Linked DNA regions of Homo sapiens: regions 1, 3, 4, 5, 6 and 7 are each linked to region 2. Evidence: promoter capture Hi-C in 16 types of primary human blood cells and fetal thymus (Javierre and others, 2016). All regions are on one chromosome and are shown on one strand. The core of a region is centred on a gene start or on the middle of the fragment in contact, and the rest is flanking DNA. Distances in the headings are between cores, read along the strand shown. Region 1 overlaps GSEC (G-quadruplex forming sequence containing lncRNA). Region 2 holds the start of STT3A-AS1 (STT3A antisense RNA 1). Region 3 holds the start of SIAE (sialic acid acetylesterase). Region 4 overlaps PANX3 (pannexin 3). Region 5 overlaps MSANTD2 (Myb/SANT DNA binding domain containing 2). Region 6 holds the start of ROBO3 (roundabout guidance receptor 3). Region 7 holds the start of DCPS (decapping enzyme, scavenger).

Region 1 (2,700 bases), core at 22-2,521, 760 kb before region 2:
GCCAGGGTGGGTATGCCCAGCGCAGCCAAGGCGCTCGCTCCCGGGAACAATGAGAATCAAGAAAGGGTGCAGTGCTCTATCCCACGGGGAACGGTGTCCTTCCCTCACTGGGGAAACTGGGGCAGGGTCCTGTTCCGGGAGCCTATGCTTCCCGTGCCCCATGCACGCAAGGCAGCCAGTCAGTCCCCTGGGCCCAGACGTGGGCCCTTCCTCTGCTTCGGTTGGGGCCTGCTGCCCCTAAACTGCTCTCTCTGCACCCCTCACTTGCATACTCTTTATCTTGGCCTCAGAAAGTTTCTCAGTTTCCTTTCCGTTATTGAAGGCGCCAGGCATCCTGTCTCCAGGAAGAAACCCCTGGGCCCCTGACCCTGGTTCTTTGGACCCAGGCATCCCCCCAAATAAACCTGGGAACTGCCCAGGCTGAAGAACAGTTCAGAAGTCACCCTACAGGACAATCCACAGCCCCTTAGGCCAGTCCCTTTCACAGGTCAGCACAGTGTTTCCGGAGCCCCACGTATCAACAGCCCAGTGCCGGGAGCGCCAGGGGCTCCAAGGAAACTATCAGACCCATTCCCTGTCCCCAGGAAGCTTACCATCCAGCGGCACAGAGAAGGCTCACCATGGACTCCATTCAAGAACGAGGCAGGATAGGATGTGAATAAGTGCAAGGTGTGAGTGACTGACAGTAAGTGCAAGGGGGTTCAGAGAAGTGGCAGCTCCAAGCCTGCTTCTGCTGAAGCTGGAGGGCTTATCTGTCAAGAACCCCCAACTCAGGAAGCTCTGCTCCAAGTGAGCTGAGTAAGGAGAGTCTGCCTCCAAGTTGTTCCTCTGCAGGTGACTGTGCTCCATGCTAAATCATTCCTTGCACGGGCAGAAGCTGTTTGGCATTGCACCAGTGTCTGATTTTGTTTGAATATGGTGCCTTTGGCTTAATCAGTCAGACATGCATTCAACAACTATTTATTTATTTATTTATTTATTTATTTATTTATTATTTTGAGACAGAGTCTCGCTCTGTCGCCAGGCTGGAGTGCACTGGCGTGATCTTGGCTCACTGCAACCTCTGCCTCCCGGGTTCAAGTGATTCTCCTGCCTCAGCCTCCCGAGTAGCTGGGACTACAGGCGCGTGCCACCATGCCCAGCTAATTTTTGTATTTTTAGTAGAGACGAGGTTTCACCATGCTGGCCAGGATGGTCTCGATCTCTTGACCTTATGATCCGCCCGCCTCGGCCTCCCAAAGTGTTGGGATTACAGGCGTGAGCCATTCAACAACTATTTATTGCATGCCATCTCCAGGCCTGGAATTAAGCTGGGTATAAAGAACACAATGACTAAGTCCCTGCCTCGGGCAAGTCGAGGAAGAGGGAAGAGCCTCCTTGTTCTACAGATGGGAAGACTGGCCCAAAGGGAGTAAGCAGCTGCCCTTCATAACTAAGTGAATCTGACAGAACTGATCCAAGCGTCAGCCCAGCCTCTAAACTTGGCCATTTGATGAACTAGATCTAAGCACAGTTTGCAGTTCTTGCCGTGAATCACGTAAATGTCACTCTACCAGAAAATGGAACTTAAGAACCAGCATTTGTTCCTGGAGACCTGAGTTCCAACTCTTGTCTCTGCCACTAAATAGCTTTAGTTTTCTTACTGGGGTGGGGGGAGGGGAAAGGAAATAACTGCTTATTCAAAGGGCTATTGTTGGCATTAAATCAGGCAATGGATGCGAATTTGGTCTGAAAGCATAACCTGCTATATATAAGTGTGTGCTGTTACTATGCAGGTGGCGTGCCTTTTCTAACCTATAAGCTGTATTCAGGCCTCTCCCCCAGCTTATCCCAAGCCTGGTTACTAGGTGCCCAGAAGCTAACCGTAATTCTGCTCCCCTCAGGTTAGGCCACAATGTGCTTACTCATGATGATCTTTTCCCTCCAGTTTCTTAACAGCATGGCCACAAGCTTAGCTCACTGCCTAGAAGCCATGTCATCTTTGGGGCAGGAGGGAAGCAATTCTGGTGCCTTTCTCCTCTTCTCTTCTCTCTTTTTCTTTCTTTCTTTTCTTCCTTCCTTCTTTCCTTCCTTCCTTTCTCTCTCTTCTTGTCTTTCCATCTTTCCTTCTCCTCTTCTTTCTTTTTCTTTCTTTCCTTTCTTCCTTCCTTCTTTCCTTCCTTCCTTTCTCTCTCTTTTTCTTGTCTTTCCATCTTTCTTTCTCCTCTTCTTTCTTTTTCTTTCCTTTCTTCCTTCCTTCTTTCCTTCCTTCCTTTCTCTCTCTTTTCTTGTCTTTCCATCTTTCCTTCTCCTCTTCTCTTTTTCTTTCTTTTTCTTCCTTCTTTCCTTCCTTGCTTTCTCTCTCTCTCTTCTTGTCTTTCCATCTTTCCTTCTCTTCTCTTTTTCTTTCTTTCCTTTCTTCCTTCCTTCTTTCCTTCGTTCCTTTCTCTCTCTCTTTTCTTGTCTTTCCATCTTTCCTTCTCCTCTTCTCTTTTCTTTCCTTTCTTCCTTCTTTCCTTCCTTCCTTTCTCTCTCTTTTCTTGTCTTTCCATCTTTCCTTCTCCTCTTCTTTCTTTTTCTTTCTTTTTTTTTCTTCCTTCCTTCTTTCCTTCCTTCCTCTCTCTCTCTCTTTTCTTGTCTTTCCATCTTTCCTTCTCCTCTTCTCTCCTCTCTCCTCTCCATGTGCTTTTTTGGCCCCAGGCCCCCCTTTGGTGCAACTAC
Region 2 (2,700 bases), core at 131-2,630:
GTATCCCTTAACAAACGTTTGTCTATCCTCCTCCATGAATCTTTTTTCCCACTATTATTGGAATAAAGGAGAAAAACAAAACAACAACAACACTGGACTAGGTGGAAGGCATATAGAATGCTAGCCCCAACACTGAGAAGTCAAGCATGTTCTCCATAATTAACTGTCCCAGAAGAGCAGTTTAGAAATGTGTTTAAGTATAGTCCCAAAGGGAAAGCTTACTTTGCAACTAAAAATAAAGGCCTAACTACTCCAGGAGGTCAACAATCCAGCCATATCTCTCAGGGTTTGCAGCTGTTTTCTGGAATGCCTGAAATAGGAACAAACTTAACACCACTGCGTTGATACGAGCCACACACCAAAATGAGACTGCTAGGATCTCTACTTGAAAACTTGAGTAAACGAGCTAGTCATTGAGGGCAGGGCCGTAAGGGAGATTTCATCTCGTGCTCTTTGGTCACTTTCGCACACCGCCAAGCAAATAAGAGCAAAGACACCTTTCTTAAAACACTTACCAACCTGCTCTCCTCAACTGTGCCCTGCAAGCTGTGGCATCTCCTGCCACCCTGCCTCTAGTTTCCCAGACTGCAATTTCCCCAGCCCCGTTTTCCTACACACGTTTCCACACCCTCTCACGATCTTTTACTCTCTTCTCCCTTCCGGTCGTTCCAGCGGGTCCCACCTCCCTCTTCTTCCCACCCTCAAAGAACTGACCACCTCTGATACCCCTCAGCGCGGGACACTCATCACCCCAGCATCCTACGCGCCTTCCCCTCCATAACTAGTCCCAGGACCCAGTCTTTCCCACGCTCTGTTCTCAAGACCCACCTTACCCTCCCTCCCTAGACCTTCGCATCCTTCCATCCAGGAAGCCCCCACACCACGCCCCACGCCCCCTCCTCTGCAAGGCCCTAAGCTCTGCTCTCCACCCCCATTTAGAGTTTTGCCTCCTGCACTTCGTTCAGCCCCATCAACGCCATGGACTGCACCTGCCGCTGATTTTCAAGTTACGTTCTACGGCCTTCTCACCTGGCCGGCTTTCCTAAACGATCCGCGGGGCTCCCTCAGCCATCCGTTCAGCGGCGCACCCAACCCTGGCAGGAGCCGGGTCCGCCTCCCGGACCGCTCCCCCGTTGGCTGGCTCCAGGCCAATAGGACGCTTCTGGAGAGCGATAGGGTCTCGGAACTGTCTGTCAAATCCGGAGGCGTAAACCGGGCCGCGATTCAAGTTTTTAATTGGTCATTACAGCTATCACTTAGCAGTCTAGAGGCAGGTCTGTATGCTCCCGCCGAGCTGTCATAGGCCGGCGCGTAGGAGTCAAGAGCGCGGAAAGAACGTGCCCCAAGCAGTTTGGTTGAGGGCCGAGGAGTGACGTGTCGGTTTGCGGACCCACGGGGAGTCGCAGTGGGAAGGCGCGGCCCACTGACTCCCGTCATGTGACAAGAAGCGGAAACTACGCTGAAATAGGCCCTTGCTCCAAGTCCCAGTAACTCGGAATGCGGAGCCGCTCGTCTCCCGTCTTTTTTAAGGTAGAAATTGTTACCTAATACAAGGTGAAAGGAGAGGAGGGAAGCATTTTCTACCTATTTATTCTCAATTAAAACTCAAACGCGGACTGGTCCAGACAGTTCGTCTTTTGCAGGATGTGCCTGATAGTTGACTCGAGCTTTTACTGTGCCTTGGTAACTGCGATGGACCTGGGAACCTTGACAGAGTTCACAGCCCCTGGTTTTGTGAAAGAGCGTGCCTAGGCCTAAAGGGGTTGTCGGGGCTAAGCTGGAAGCATTTCTACTGCCAGCTGAGACAGCCACCGCCGCGGAGGCACAGCCCTCCCCAGCAGCAAGCGGGCTTCCTCGGGAGACCGGGAGGCAGCCCGGCCATGCTTAGTCAGTTCAGCCCTTTGTTAAAATACCGGCCAGAGAGCCGCTCTCCCTATCCTAACTTGCCTCTCTTCTCTCGCACCCCACGCGCTCCCCGACCCCCAATAAGTTTGCTGAGGGCAGAGAAGGGGACGAAGTTTGAGCAGCAATTCCATCATCTCAGACTCGCACGTGTACACCTTTATCCTCAGGCACTTCCACTCCCTGCGCGCCTCGGTGAGCCAAGGCTACACCAGAGAGAGTGGGAACGTCTCGCAGCTCTTCGAACTTGTTGCCTCTACCACTCACGCAGTTTCCTATTCTCCCATGAACGGAACCCACCACTTATTGAAAGGTCATTATTTAAATCACTGCTTCAGAATCACATGCATTTTTTTCAAAATCCACATGACCAGGCTCGCCCCAGGACGTTATGATTCAATAGATCTGCTTTTTTTTGGTTTTGTTTTTAGTAGTAAGTGTTCGATGTAATTTTACTTTAACAAAAGGAAACTGAAGCTGAGCCTGAAGGAATTACAGAACTTGGAGTAAATGCTTCTTCAAAATACGAGTTTTGGTCGGGCGCGGTGGCTCACCCCTGTAATCCCAGCACTTTGGGAGGCCAAGGCGGGCGGATCACGAGGTCAGGAGGTAGAGACCATCCTGGCCAACATGGTGAAACCCGTCTCTACTAAAAATAGAAAAATTAGCTGGGCGTGGTGGCGCGTGCCTGTAATCCCAGCTACTCGGGAGGCTGACACAGAATCACTTGAACCAGGGAGTCGGAGGTTGCAGTGAGCCGAGATCGTGCCACTGCACTCCAGCCTGGCGACAGAGCTG
Region 3 (2,700 bases), core at 194-2,693, 920 kb after region 2:
CACAACTATGCCAACAAATTATTTCTGAGACTCATACATCTGGACTTGAATTCTTTTTTCCCTAACACAACCCAAGCCCATCCATTTCTTCCAAAGAGTTTTGAAATCTCCATTGTGAATTAGTATAATACAAACACAGACCCATTCACTAGGCCAAATCATTTAAAATCCTGCAAAAAACCCATAATTTTCAATATGACTTTTTCTCTCTTTACCCTTTATATGCTCAAAAGGTAAGGGTAATTTTTGCTATCACACAGGAATTTAGAGAGAATGATTGCTAAAAAGTTAAATTCATTGTCAATTGCTGAGAAGACCTTCTTTGAGGTCTATTTTTTTTTAAAGAGTAGAAATTAGTCCTGGTTCTAGAAATTAATTTGTTGAATGAAGAAGTTGCACAATCTTTCCCCTTGCTGCCACTTCTGAAGCATGACCCACAATGCTTCGAACACCTTCGTACTGTGGAATGGGGTTGTGCGTGCGTGTGTGTGAGGGAGGGATGGGATGGGATGGGGCTGTGTGTCATGATTTTGAAATCCCAGCCTCTAAAGTTTTAGAATTCTTATATTTTTCGGTTTCTTCTTGATCAGGTTGTCTCTTTCTGTCTTGAAATACAAGGGCTAGATTAAGGGTAGCTGCTAAGCAGCGGGCTGAGCTACTACTGAGTATGAAAAGAATCCTCCGGGACCTGGCCTGTTAATGTGAGAGTGTGCGTCAATGCGGAATAGAGGCGGAGGCCGTGGTAGGGGTCCAGGTTGGGAGAACTGGACGGTTTAATGAGGCTCAGACTATGGAGGGTTCTCGTTTCATCGCTTTTTTTTTCTTTGAGAGGGGGTCTCTGGCCTCGAACTCCTGGGCTCCAGCGATGATCCCGCCTCAGCCTCCCGAGCAATTGGGATTACAGGCGCGCGCCACCACGCCTGACTCCTCTCTTTTGCTTTTTCTGAGGGAGCAGTAGATGGGGGTATCGAACCATTCTAGAGTGGTGAAAAGAGCTGGCGAGATTCTGAACCAATGTGGGCAGAGGAGGGCGGGCGGAGGGGGCAGACGGGTCTAGTCGGGGGCGGGATGTTGAGGACCTGGGATTTCAGACTCGCGCAGAATGGGCTGCCTCGGCTCCCAAACGGCCCAGGGCTCCGAGGCTGTGTCTGGGATGCTGAGAGAATAAGAGAGACGAAGGGAAAAGGCTAGGTCTTGGTATCGGAGAGGAAGTGGGGAAGCGGCCTCACCTCCTTTCTCTCCGAGCTGGTGCCGCCGGTTCCGGTTGTTTTTCTAGTTGCTGGGTAACCGTTTTTTCTTTAAAAAAAAAAAAAAACTACGGCGGCCGAGAAGGGGCGAGTACAGCCCAGTCCTGAGGTCGCGGGAGGCTGCGAGGACTGCAAAAGGGTGGAGTCGGCCTCGCCCCCGCCCAGGCCCCGCCCCTGCCGGGAACCCACTTTCCCAGTCCTAGGCGGCGGTCAGATCCTTGCAAGCATGGTCGCGCCGGGGCTTGTACTCGGGCTGGTGCTGCCATTAATCCTGTGGGCCGACAGAAGTGCAGGTGAGGCGGCCCGGCTCGGCCGGACCCCTGCCCCTCAGCCTGTGCGGGCTCCGAGACCCCGTGTCCTCTGCGGGACACGGATCCGCGCCCCTTTCTCAAGGTCGACGAAGGAACCTAGCTAGGCTAGGGGCTCGCGTCTCCGACCGAGGCCCGGTCTGCAGGAGTCTGCTGGGTTGAACCCCGGCCTCTCCACTTTCTCCACCCCCCACTTACCATCCCTGACATGCAGCCTGTGAGCAGGGAGAAAGTGCGGCTTGTCTGAGTGGGGAGGCCCAAATGTGCCCAGAAAGAGGCCTTCGGGGTCCTGGAGTAACTGCAGGGGAGCTCGGAGGGAAGGAGGCGAAGCTAGTTAGGTAATATTTGGAAACAGGTGACTGAATCTTCCAAAACATTTCAGCGCTACCCCCTCAGTGGTGCCCTTGGGGAGGGTTTGCTTCAGGCGGGGTTCCTTAGGGGAATTAAATTTTACTCGTTTAAGTGGTTATCAGGGCTAAGAAATACAACCCCCTCACTAGCTCTGACTATTTAAGGCTCAGTTTTGATTTCTGGTACCGCTTACAGATATTGGTGGTGGGAAAATGTGAGTGGCATAGGGGAGGCTGGTGGCTCCCTTTGGCTGTTGCGCAGGTCAGATCTTGCCATTCGAATACCCTAGGCTGGACACTGGGTCACAGTATGGAGAAAGCAGAAGGTGCAATCTGTCTGATAATGCAAACTAAAGTGATAATGTTGGATTTCTTCCTTTCTGTTTCAAAACACTCAAAGAGTGGACCCCAGAGATCCCTGTTAAGAAATGATAGTTGGGGTAGGAGAACAGCGTGCAGAAAAATGACTCCTGCTCTACCTGAGAGCCGGAAAAGTACCTAGATTCAGACAAACTGCAGCCCATAAATGATTGTTCAGAGTCTAACAAAAGTGCAAAATGCTAGCACTCTGTATGCCATTTCCTGACTCTTATCTCCACTCAGTGACCTTTGAGATCCATCTTATGAGGTGGGGAAAAGATATTTTATTAGGTTTTCAGTTAAAGGCTGTTTATTTTAGTGTCAGTATTTTATCTCCTCCTTTGGGTCTTATTGTTACATCACCTTCATTAACATTGATCACATTTTTCATTCATTAGTACTCTACTTGGTTGCGTATCCTGACGTTTTTCCTTT
Region 4 (2,700 bases), core at 154-2,653, 970 kb after region 2:
GTGAAGAAGTCCATAGCCCATAATCCCAGCCCCTGGTGAAATGAGTTCCTGGTTTAGATGGTGAAAAGTGTATCTGGGCACCTGAAGGCTCCACTCACGGCTGAGACATGGCCCCAGCCTTGTTCTACTATGTCCTTACATCCTAAGAGCAGATTACAAATTGAAGCCATCATCTCCCAGCACTTTGGAGGCTACAGAGGACTTGGACAAGGTTGATAACTTCTACAAAGCAAGCTGGGTAAATTCCTAGGATTTCAGGCCACACCAAAGGGTTTCCAGGGGTTTACATCTTTATTAATCTTTTGCCAGATTGCCTCACTTGCTCTCTGGGGTAAGCTGAATGTGCGTTCAAGAAAGGATATGGAATTGCCTCCATAAACGGACTTTAGAATCTTCTTTCCTTGCAGCATGTCTAGACTGTATTTCTTTTTATTTATACTATCCTCATAGAATGTTCTAGACTTAATTTTTTAGCTCTTTGACTCTTCGGCTCCAGCTTTCACATTTATTTCCATGTCTTGGTTATGTCTTCTCACTTTTAGGATAACATGATAAAAGATATATGATTCAGTTAAATCCAAGCTTAGCAGTTTTAAAATGTGTAATTTTTTGGTGTGTATGTGTATTAGTGTGCATGTCTTATGAGGAAGGAGAGAGACTTTCCACAAGCTTTCTTGCTCCATGGTTTCTTAACTATGGGTGTTCATCACATGCCGAGTTGGTGAGGTGTTTGGGTTTTGAGGGTTCTAAGCCAGCCAATAAAGTCATAAAATCAACTACTGTGTCAATATTGTGCTTCTGGGTGGTTGTATCCTTCAACACACATAAGACACTCAGCCAGCTAAAAGAGATGAGCTCAGAGATGTTAGCTCGGAGGAAAAGAAGGATCACATTGAGGTCATTGATGGGACATCCTAGCATCTTTCTGCTGAGGAGATCAAAAGCTGGGAGCATCTCATAGACAGATAAAAGTCGTTTGTCCCACCGACATAGCCGTGTGAGGTTGTATATTATCACTGGAACCAATATGGTGTATATTGCTACACTGGAGAGGCTAACAATCTGGAAAATGGACAGTGATGTCAGCCTGCATGTGATCAGATTGGGGACATGGGTCTCATCACTTAGCAGCCCTGTCTTGATGGAGCAGCTGAATTCTTCCTGGAAGAAGACATCCAGATGGAAATGACCAAGGTATAGGTAAGTGGCGGAGGTGAAGATGAGCAAGAGGGAGTTCCTCAGGAGGTAGGTAGCCACTAGCGAATGTGAACGCTGCTTACATGCCAGGTACCGCTCTAGCAAAGGGAATTCAAAGTATCGTTCTTTCCGAGCCCTGGGCAGTGGAAGGAAGGAGGCAAGGTTAGTAGTGACCATTTAGAACCATACTCTAAGAGAGGCATGTGACAAAGTAACAGATCTGTTTTCAACATGGCATTCTTGGTTCCCATGAAAATCTGTCTTCCCGAGCATAACCATGCTTCTCCCCCAAACTGAGGCATATGAGTATATCTTGATTCTCCAAGTACTTACTGCAATGTGATAAACCCAGTGAATGATCAGTGAGTAATGATTTATTACACTGGATTTCTGCCAAGCAAGGCGGACTAAAGTTCTAAGCTGAAGTAGGATCTTTAGGTAGCAATAGGCTTATGAAATTAGCACTGGATTGGGGGTTTAGCTAAGTGCATTCTGGGCCGGGCATGGTGGCTTATGCTCATAATCCCAGCGGCCGAGGTGGAAGGGTCCCATAAGCCCAGGGGTTTGAGACTACCATGGGAAACACAGTAAGACCTCATCTCTATGAAAAAATACAAAAATTAGCTGGGTGTAGTAGTGTACACCTATGGTTCCAGCTACTTGGGAGGCTGAGGAGGGAGGATTGCTTGTGCCCAGGAGACTGAGGCTGCAATGAGCCAAGATCGTGCCACTGCACTCCAGCCTGGGCAACAGAGTGAGACCCTGTCTCCCCCACCCCCCCACTCCAAAAAAAGTACATTCTGGTTCTTGGCCTGTGTACTCTGTGTATGATCTTTGGGACAATTCATTCATCTTATGTAAATAATTTGGCTCACAAATGTTTGTCGAGAGCTTTGGTGTTCAGGTACATGTAAGCCAGTTTGTGCTCTGAAGAAGCTTAGAGACTGGCTTGTGGGGAAGGGGCAGATAAGACATGCAAATACGGAATAAAAATGACACTTGGTTTGTTGCTAAAATAGTGGACACAAACCACAGTGGCTGTAAAAGTTAGGAGAGGGAGGTAACAGTGTGGCCTTCAATGTTCAGAAACCCTTATGGAAAATATTGGCTGAAATCTGGGCTTCAAAAGATAGAGAGGATTTTTTTTCAGAAGATAGAGTATGTGCATAAATATGGGACAATATAATTCAAATGTTAGCGCAATTGTCTCCTTGGGCCATCTAGCCTGGCCACTCTGTGTGAAGCTACACCACTCTCCATCCCTCCAGCTTCCTCTTGCCCCACTTCCCACTTTACTTTTTCTTTTCTTCATACCACTTATTATCTCAGAACGTAGATTTCATTTCTGTGTTCTGTTTATTTGTCTGTGTTTCCTTAATAGAATGTAAGCCCCACATGGGTAGGTACAGCTTTGTCTCTCCTACCCCCATCCCCCAACACATACAAGTGAATGTATCAGAAGCACCCAGGACAATGCCTGTATGCAGGTGGAGGAATGATTAC
Region 5 (2,700 bases), core at 95-2,594, 800 kb after region 2:
TTAAGGTTAAATTTTAATTTTTATTTATTTATATTTAGAGAGAGGATCTCCCTCTCTTGCCCAACCTGAAGAACTCCTGGGCTCAAACAATCCTCCCCAGTAGCTAGGACTGCAGGCATGCCCCACCACACCTGGCTCATTAAATTTTTTTTTTTTTTTTTTTTTTTTTTAAGAGACAGGGTCTTCTACGTTGCTCAGGCTGGTTTTAGCTCCCTGGTCTCAAGCTGTCCTGCCTCAGTCTCCCAAAGCACTAGGATTACAGGCGTGAGCCACCGTGCCCAGCCAAGGTTAAATTTTTGGGAGACTTTTTGTACTGTCTTGGCTAGCGTCTATCCATGACCTCTTCTTGAGTTTAGAAGTGCATTTTAGGCATTTTAAACTGTTTCAGCTTGATTGATTTCTGTCTGTAGAAACTTCCCAATCACGCAGAAAAAGTGTGTTGTCAAAACCTCACTGAATATAAATCTCTCCATAAAATTGTTTCTCAACCAGGGAGTATCTAATTGGGTTGTTTCATTGTCCAGTTATGAGAAGGATAACTTAAAGCAAGAAAAGGAGATTTATTTGAATAATTTTTAGAAGAGGATTGGTTTACCTGTGTCCAGACAGGTAAAACCAAGTTGACCTCAAGCTCTTAGGGTATTTTGGGAATGTGCTGATGAGTATGGGTTCTCTGATCCATAGTAGCTGTTAACAAGGAGGGCAGATAACTGTTTTGTGTTTTAAAGTGCTCTACTCTTTATGTGATTTCAATCAAAGAACCCAGACTTTTTCATTAGTAATGTTGAGTGTTCCTGCCAGAATGATAAGCTCTCTAAGGACAGGTTCTGGTCTCTCTTACTCACTGCTGTACTAGCATATAGTAGACACTACATTTTTTTTAATTTGTTTTATGTTTATTTTTAATGGAGGCAGGGTTTTGCTCTGTTGCCTAAGCTGGAGTGCAGTAACGTGATCATAGCTCACTGCAGCCTTGAACTCCTGGACCTAAGTGATGCTCCCACCTCAGCTTCCTGAGTAGCTAGGACTACAGGCATTTACTACCACGCCCAGCTAATTTTTAAATTTTGTATTTTTGTTTTTTTAGAAGCAGGGTCTCACTGTGTTGCCTAGACTGGTCTCAAACTCCTAGAATCAAGCGATCCGCCTGCCTTGGCCTCCCAAAGTGCTGGGATTATAGGCGAGAGCCACCACATCCGGCCTTATTTAATTAATTCACCAAATAAAGTCTAGAAAGAGAATATTGGAAAATATAAAAATCTGCAGCAGTATTATTCAATAATACTGCTGTTTAACGAAAAAACAGACTTTGGAACCCAGTCTGAAGAATACTGCATTTAAGGAGATTTAGTGTGAATGTAATCTTCAGCACAGAAGCAAATGTGGTCACTGAAATCATATTCCTACACAATTATGAAGTGGATGTTCAAGTAACTCAGATTATGCTTATGAAAATAAAACTGCTATCTTAAAATCTCAGAGAATCTCAAACCTCTGAAAAGAAGTCATTAGATCCCAGTTTCAGAAATGCAGATTTAAAACAAGTAGTTCAAAAATCTCTTTCACTTTGTGTTGATGAGAACTACAAAAAGAAACTTAGTAATACTTTTTGCTTTAGATTTTACAAAATAGAAGCAAAGTAGTAAGATGTGGAAAAGGAAAAGGAGGAACTTCTTACGCAGACTAAAGTACATGTGAACTCAATGTCAGAGGCTCACAGAGAAGGAATATGTGTGAGTCAATTACATTTCTGGGCTAATATATTTGAAATTCCTGTCAAAAATTCAATTATGAGCCGGGTACAGTAGCGCTTCCCTGTTGTCCCAGCTACTTTAGAGGGTGAGGTGGGAGGATCGCTTGAGCTCATGAATTTGAGGCTGCAGTGTGCCATGATCATAGCACCTGTAAATAGCCACTGTACTCCAGCTTGGGCAACATAGTGAGACCTGGTCTCTTAAAAAAAAAGAATTCAACTATGAAAACCCAGTAAATAATTTCTTCTAACTTTAAAAGGAAGAGCTATATAGCAACTTTAATTTTTCCATGCAAACCTTCCTTTAGTCAGATAATTTCTGATTAGCAGCCTTCCTCACATTGTATAAAGGATCAGAAAGCTGAGCCTTATTGCACCCTTTTCTGACCACCTTCCTGAATCACCTTAAAGCATGTCACTTACCTTCTTTGGACTGTGCCTTGGTCCTCTTATCTATACAGTAAAAATACTAAAATTATAAGTATTGAAATTGAATTAATAATTTAACTCTTGGATTTTGAGACTAACATCCTACTTTTTAATACTGTCTAAATGAACATGTTTCTAAGCACACAAGATTTTAATTTACAGTCAGATATGAAAATTTGTTTATTGCTGCAAAGTTTGATTTTGATGTCTGTCATCTTATTGGTATTTGTTCTGTCGTTTGGGTAAAACGGATGTGTTTGACACTGCCTTACTACATAGATTGTTTATCTTGAAGTTTTGTTGCATTTTTGTTTGTTTGCCAGAAGAAAATTTGTCTACTAACAATTCCAGCCCAATTTTGGAGTCAGATACACAAATCTAGGTAGTTTTTTATCTAGTGATTGCATGATTTTTCTCTTTTACTGTAGGCCTTTTCATATCTCCAGTCACCAAATACTTAAGTGCTTACTATGTGGAGGGCTGTCTGCTAGGTGTTAGGATGAATAAAAGAACTGTAG
Region 6 (2,700 bases), core at 137-2,636, 730 kb after region 2:
CACCCTTCTGGTCGGCCTTTTCCCCCTAATTCCTGTAGACACAGCTGCAGGCGCCCTTTCCCTGGAATTTCCCCCTCTACCCTTCCCGGTCTCAGGAGATGCTTCGACTGCAGCCTAATGAATAGCTAATGGCCATGCTAATGAGGCTCTGGGGCTCCTCCCTCAGCACCTGATGTGCCCCACACATGAACACACACATATTGCCAGGGTCTCCTTTCTCTCCACCTTCGAGTCCCCAGCACAGTGCTCGTCACTAGACTCGAGTGGGTCGAGGCAGAGGGATGGGGACCGCGTGCACCTGGAGGGAACCACACGCGAAAGCGCCCGGTAAAGCGGGGGTTCCCGATGCGGCAGGCAGGGGGCGCGCTCCGGCCTCTCCGCAGGCTGGCGGCGGCCGGCTCCCGCAGCTTCCCCGCGGCGCTAGGGGAGAGCGCGCTGTCCCAGTCATTTATTAATCACCGTAATTAGCGGTAACGACCTCGCCGCCAGCTCCGCCCGCCCGCCACAGCTCTGCCGGGGTGGGCCGGCTGAGAGTCCCGCCGCTGAAAGACAAACTTCTAAGTTTCCTTAAAATGATCGCCGCCCCTATCCCCTCCGTAGCAAACACATCCAGCATTTTGGCTTCCTCTGGTCCTAAGTGAGTTCTTGGGAAACTTCGGGGTTCCGAAGACCAGCTGCCTGGGTGGGTCACCGAGTGACCTGGCTTGGCCGAGGCCGGCGGGAGACTGTGCCCCCTCCTCTGCCCTCCCTGCGCTGGGCCCGGGCCTTTCTTAGCTCGGACTTCCCTGCCCGTTACCAGCAACGGTTCTTCTCACCTGGGGTGGGCGTTGTAGGGGAAGGGAAGGAGGTGTAAAAAGACTCAGTAGCCATCTTCTCCCAAGCCCTCGACCTCCCGCGGGTACCCCCACTCATGTGCTCGAAGCTCCAAATTATCCCTTAGACCCCACGACCCAGGGAGGCGCTGGGAGGCGCCACTCAATCCCGGACCTCGGGACAGGAGCGCTTCTCCTTCCCTTCCACGCCGCCCTCTCACCTCATCCCCATCCCAGGATCCCATATCCCCAAGAGGCAGGGTCTCACCGTTGAGAGAGGGATCGCCGGGAGGCAGCAGGGTGTGGTTGAGCGCCGCCAGCGAGGAGTTGAAGCCCAAGAGCAGCTCGCTGGAGTTGGAGATGTCCCCGGCCAGAGAGTCCGCGAACAAGTTCATCTGCAGCAGCGTTTTCAGCAGGTAGCGCAGCATGGCTCGACCCAGCTGGGATCGGGACTGGGGGCTGGGGGCCCAGCCCCTGGGTCTGAGACCCGTGGGCTGGGAGCCGTAAGCCCCTCCACAGCCTCTGCGCGCTGCGGCAGCCACGGTGCCGCTCTCCTGCCGGTGCGCCTGGGTACGGTCGGTGCCTCTTCGTGCCCTCCTCCTTCCCTCGTCCTTCTCTCCACCCCCTAGTGCCGGAGTCCCCTGGGAGCTGGGCAGGCGGAAAGCAGGTGCCACGCCGATCACGGCGTAATTAAGGGATTAATCCGCCTCCCTCCACCCTCCCACCCTTACCTCTACAGTCACTATCCGAGCAGGAGACACGAGTAGCGTAGCGCGCGAGTTGGAGTCCCCGCCCCGCACCCCAAGCCCAGCGTTCCGTTCTGGACGCGGCGAGAGATTTTCCCTGTCTCAAAGCACCCAAGATGAGGGACGAGGCTCTGTCGGACTCTGCCCTTCTGCCCAACTTTAGAACAGGAATCTGTCCTCTCTTTTCCCGAACCTTTTGGAAACTGAGGCAAAGCGCAAGCAATGCTCCTTGCTGCCAAAGTTCTGGTTTCCATTCCCTCCCAAGTCTAGGGGTTTGGCGACGGAAGGGCAGGAGACTGGGGTGGTTTGCAGCAAGAGTTGGGAGTAGGCAGAGAATTCCAAGACAGGTCCACCTCTCTGCCCTCTGGTCCTTTGGTCTGCAGCCAGGAGGCCAGAGGATGGAGCGGCGCGCCCTGACCCGGGAGTCCTGCTCCAAACGCCCTAATCTAGGAGTTCCTGTAGGAGACTGAAAGCCAGGGAAACCCAGGCAACTGTCATTTATTTGAATCCTTTTACATTACCCTGCTTTGACATTTTTTATTAAATTGTTTTACGTTTTTGAGGAGACTGAAATGGAACCAAGGATTCTAGGACAAAAACAAAGATAATATTATTTTTGTAAAGGCATGTGGGATTGCTGCAAAATTAGTGCAAATCTGTTCAAATCGGATAGCAGTCGTCCTTCCTGGGGGGGGCGAAAAGAAAACCATGGGCCCCTACTCCCACCTCCCACTTCCAGTCGCGGTCTGCTTCTGACTTTTCTGGAGTTCTTTCTACCTGAAGACCCACCTCGACAAACTCACTTTCCTAGACAGGAGATGGCTTTGGGGTATCAGGGAAAGAGAGAGGCCGGGGCATTCCTAACCTGAGGTAAGGCCCTGCTGATTGAAGAGTCAGTGCCAGAGTTCTGGCTCAGCCGTCAGGTTCTGGGATGAGACAACTTTCATGGGGCGACTGCTTCTGACCCCAAAGGGGTCGAGATCAGAGGGGTGGGTGCTATACAGTCGCAGACTCTGGAGTAAGCAGAATCAAGAATTGAAATATTTCAGGCAGAGCTTGTTCAAGGGAACCCGAGACATTGTCAAGGGGTGGGGGGCTTGTTCCAAGCCTCCTTCCTCAGTCCAGGCGCCTGGCTGTGAGCC
Region 7 (2,700 bases), core at 104-2,603, 710 kb before region 2:
GCGGGTGCGGTGGCTCACGCCTGTAATCCCAGCACTTTGGGAGGCAGAGGCAGGCGGATCACCTGAGGTCAGGAGTTCGAGACCAGCCTGGCCAACATGGTGAAACCCCCATCTCTACTAAAAATACAAAAATTAGCTGGGCATGGTGGCGGGGGCCTGTAATCCCAGCTATTGGGCAGGCTGAGGCAGGTAGAATAGCTTGAACTCGGGAGGCAGAGGTTGCAGTGAGCCGAGATCACATCACTGCACTCTAGCCTGGGTGACAGAGAGGAGAGACTCCGTCTCAAAAATAAATAAATAAATAAATAAAAATTTAAAAACCAGATACACACAGAGGCATGGAAGCCTAGGCCAAGGTTCCCTGATCCTCCCAAAGGTGAGAGTTCCTGCTAGTAGTTCTAGGGAACCCCCTTATCTGCCCTGGCTAGGCCTCCTCACTAGTTTCTGGGGAACCCCCATATCTGCTCTGGCTAGGCCTCCTCACTAGTTCCTGGAATGGTCTCCATCTCTCCTCAGCCCCTGCCAGATTGCTGAGCACGTTGGTATTGGAGCAAGCTGTGTGTATCTGTCTCGCCAGAAATATTCCGTAGTCCTGAAGATCAGGGATGGTAACTTTCGTCTCCACATCCCCAGTACCTAGTTTAGTGTCTGGCATGCATGAAAGTGCGTGCGTAGAACTGAATTAACAATTATAATATATTGTTCTCCTGTTACGGCTGAAGTCGCGTAAGGCAGAGATCACATCTCCTACAGTCTCATGTCGTTTCCACGGACAGGGATGAGCGAGACATCTAACATTGACTGGGTTCCTAGTCCCTGTATACATAAATGGATGATGAATGGCTTGGGGAATGTAACATGTGATCTTTAATCTGCAATGCACTCTCCCAGTAGATATTTCTAGTGGAGACATTAGAAAAATTAGAGCTAGATGTGTTCATTGCCTTAATTTCAAAGGCAATCTTGCCGCCTTTCACCGCCCCTCTATGCATTCTAGTGGCGCACTCCCGCCTCCCCGGAGTGATAATGATTGGTATTTTCCAGCCGAGATCCGAAAAAAAAAAATCTGCCTCCGAGGCGATGATTGGTTCACTGCTTCCCGCATCCCACCTCAGGGTTGCCTCCTGGTACCTTCCCGTGTAGGAAAATGATTTTGTCCCGCGCAGACTCCCTCAGCACCTTCTGCAGTCTGAAGCCGGAGAACGGTAAGCGGACAGGAGCACAGGTACCATTTCCAACTCCTGCCTCCTTTTCCTCTGTGCTGGCGGCGTGGGCCTCCTCCACGTCCAATTCGCGCTTCCTCTTGCCTAGTTGAGGAGCTGCGTCCGCCATGCTGCCGCGGAGGCGGTGTGCGCCTGCGCCCCCTGCGCTGGCCCCGCCCCTAGCCCGAGTCCAGCGGCCTGGCTGGGCTGCTAACTCCCGGCCTACCCTGCTCTGGCACCCGCTCCTGCGGGATGCGTGCCGCGCATGGCGGAGCCCGCTGACCTGTCCCAGGGCGCGCCTTTCAACCGAGTTACTGCCTTTGGCCCCGTTGTGGTGCCGGCCGGCCCTCAGGGAAGGGAAAAGAAGGCTGAGAGTCCCGAAAGCGGCGGGCTAGAGGTGGCTGCGCAGTGAAGAGGGACCCCCAGGCCCACGCCCCGGGGTGGGAGCCGAAGACGCCCTTGGGCCACGGTAGTGTTGGAGCCCTTGTTTGAATACTGACATTTTAATCATAGTTACACCGACGTTGACCAATTATCGGGGAAGCAACGTTTCTGACGCAAATCCGTGAGCCCATTTGATTCCTTGGTCGATTTTTTATACCGAGTATTTAAGCCATTTCCATTTTTCTCCCATTTTAATTACTTTGCAGAAATTTTCATCGTGGTCAGTTTTTTACTTTGTAGACTCAGTACTTTTCTGCTGACAAAAAAGGTAAACGAATATGGCCAGAAGAACCATCTCCACCACCCACTTATTTCCGGGCTAGAGGCATCCCCCTCCTCTCTATTTTGTTTACCTGTATTTCTGCCCTGCTACCCAGGGATATGATTTGCAGTATGATTCGTCTCCCAGGGTTTCGTTTCTCTTTTTTTTTTTTTTTTTTTTTTTTTTTGCCATATAAAATTATTACTTGTAACTTCTGCTGTTGAGGGTTTCTTTGGTGACCATTGTTTCTGGTTAGCCCGTTTTTCACTGGTGTTATTTAACAGATCTAAATTTTGTGAAGAGTTGGTACTTACGGACAGGCGCGGTGGCTCACGCCTGTAATTCCAGCACTTCGAGAGGTCGAGGTGGACGGATCACGAGGTTAAGATACCGAGACCATCCTGGCCAACATGGTGAAACCCCGTCTCTACTAAAAATACAAAAATTACCCGGGCGTGGTGGCCCGCGCCTGTAGTCCCAGCTACTCGGGAGGCTGAGGCAGGAAAATCGCTTGAACGCGGGCGGAGTATTGTAGTGAGCCGAGATCGCACCACTGCACTCCACCCTGGCGACAGAGCGAGACTACGTCTCAAAGAAAAAAAAAAAGAGTTGGTACTTACATCGCTTCAGTCAGCCACACATTTATTTTGCCAGTGATTTGAGTTTAGGTTTTCAGACAGATCTCATGGGTGTGGGACAGTTTTTGCCATTCTCAACGTTAGCAACAAGATGCAATTTACAGTCAGTTTTTGGTCAATAACAAAGTGTACCATGTGTTAGTTTGATTTTTGG

What was found. Contacts are between HindIII fragments. The CHiCAGO score rates a contact against its expected background, and 5 or more counts as called.
Region 1: a fragment that was not itself captured here is called in contact with the fragment with the promoter of STT3A-AS1 in region 2 in 1 of 17 cell types (fetal thymus); the score reaches 5.8 in fetal thymus.
Region 3: the fragment with the promoter of SIAE here is called in contact with the fragment with the promoter of STT3A-AS1 in region 2 in 6 of 17 cell types (total CD8 T cells, naive CD4 T cells, naive CD8 T cells and 3 more); the score reaches 8.0 in total CD8 T cells.
Region 4: a fragment that was not itself captured here is called in contact with the fragment with the promoter of STT3A-AS1 in region 2 in 2 of 17 cell types (non-activated CD4 T cells and naive CD8 T cells); the score reaches 6.1 in non-activated CD4 T cells.
Region 5: a contact is called between a fragment that was not itself captured here and the fragment with the promoter of STT3A-AS1 in region 2, in 1 of 17 cell types (activated CD4 T cells). The highest score is 6.9, in activated CD4 T cells.
Region 6: the fragment with the promoter of ROBO3 here is called in contact with the fragment with the promoter of STT3A-AS1 in region 2 in 2 of 17 cell types (naive CD8 T cells and non-activated CD4 T cells); the score reaches 5.8 in naive CD8 T cells.
Region 7: the fragment with the promoter of DCPS here is called in contact with the fragment with the promoter of STT3A-AS1 in region 2 in 1 of 17 cell types (naive CD8 T cells); the score reaches 6.7 in naive CD8 T cells.

The regions. Positions count from the first base shown.
Region 1 is chr11:126,352,703-126,355,402 of GRCh38, reverse strand. The region is part of intron 1 of GSEC (G-quadruplex forming sequence containing lncRNA); the gene reads left to right. Among named protein-coding and RNA genes, the nearest start is that of GSEC, 1.5 kb to the left of the region's middle. RefSeq lists enhancers at 1-81, 82-825. The HindIII fragment of the contact is 1,362 bases long and covers 591-1,952 here.
Region 2 is chr11:125,591,248-125,593,947 of GRCh38, reverse strand. STT3A-AS1 (STT3A antisense RNA 1) reads left to right here and starts at 1,380. Exons shown (of 4, transcript NR_132372.1): 1 at 1,380-1,530. STT3A (STT3 oligosaccharyltransferase complex catalytic subunit A) reads right to left here and starts at 1,096. Exons shown (of 18, transcript NM_152713.5): 1 at 1,030-1,096. RefSeq lists enhancers at 1,230-1,824, 1,942-2,111. The HindIII fragment of the contact is 3,144 bases long and covers 220-2,700 here.
Region 3 is chr11:124,672,482-124,675,181 of GRCh38, reverse strand. SIAE (sialic acid acetylesterase) reads left to right here and starts at 1,443. Exons shown (of 10, transcript NM_170601.5): 1 at 1,443-1,540. The coding sequence starts at 1,474. It overlaps SPA17 (sperm autoantigenic protein 17), which reads right to left and starts at 1,278. Exons shown (of 5, transcript NM_017425.4): 1 at 1,230-1,278. RefSeq lists an enhancer at 1,168-1,347 and silencers at 1,257-1,415, 1,388-1,507. The HindIII fragment of the contact is 8,074 bases long and covers 1-2,700 here.
Region 4 is chr11:124,617,929-124,620,628 of GRCh38, reverse strand. PANX3 (pannexin 3) reads right to left here. Exons shown (of 4, transcript NM_052959.3): 4 at 273-1,333. The coding sequence ends at 694. It overlaps LOC124902779 (a long non-coding RNA gene), which reads left to right. Exons shown (of 2, transcript XR_007062932.1): 1 at 1-2,700. Among named protein-coding and RNA genes, the nearest start is that of TBRG1, 3.6 kb to the left of the region's middle. The HindIII fragment of the contact is 1,464 bases long and covers 672-2,135 here.
Region 5 is chr11:124,795,705-124,798,404 of GRCh38, reverse strand. The region is part of intron 1 of MSANTD2 (Myb/SANT DNA binding domain containing 2); the gene reads left to right. Among named protein-coding and RNA genes, the nearest start is that of MSANTD2, 3.4 kb to the left of the region's middle. The HindIII fragment of the contact is 2,862 bases long and covers 1-2,700 here.
Region 6 is chr11:124,864,118-124,866,817 of GRCh38, reverse strand. It overlaps ROBO3 (roundabout guidance receptor 3), which reads right to left and starts at 1,386. Exons shown (of 28, transcript NM_022370.4): 1 at 1,081-1,386. The coding sequence starts at 1,240. RefSeq lists an enhancer at 394-1,070. The HindIII fragment of the contact is 17,224 bases long and covers 1-2,700 here.
Region 7 is chr11:126,302,713-126,305,412 of GRCh38, reverse strand. DCPS (decapping enzyme, scavenger) reads right to left here and starts at 1,353. Exons shown (of 6, transcript NM_014026.6): 1 at 1,132-1,353. The coding sequence starts at 1,332. TIRAP-AS1 (TIRAP antisense RNA 1) reads left to right here and starts at 1,091. Exons shown (of 2, transcript NR_187388.1): 1 at 1,091-1,225. RefSeq lists a silencer at 1,266-1,395. The HindIII fragment of the contact is 18,674 bases long and covers 1-2,700 here.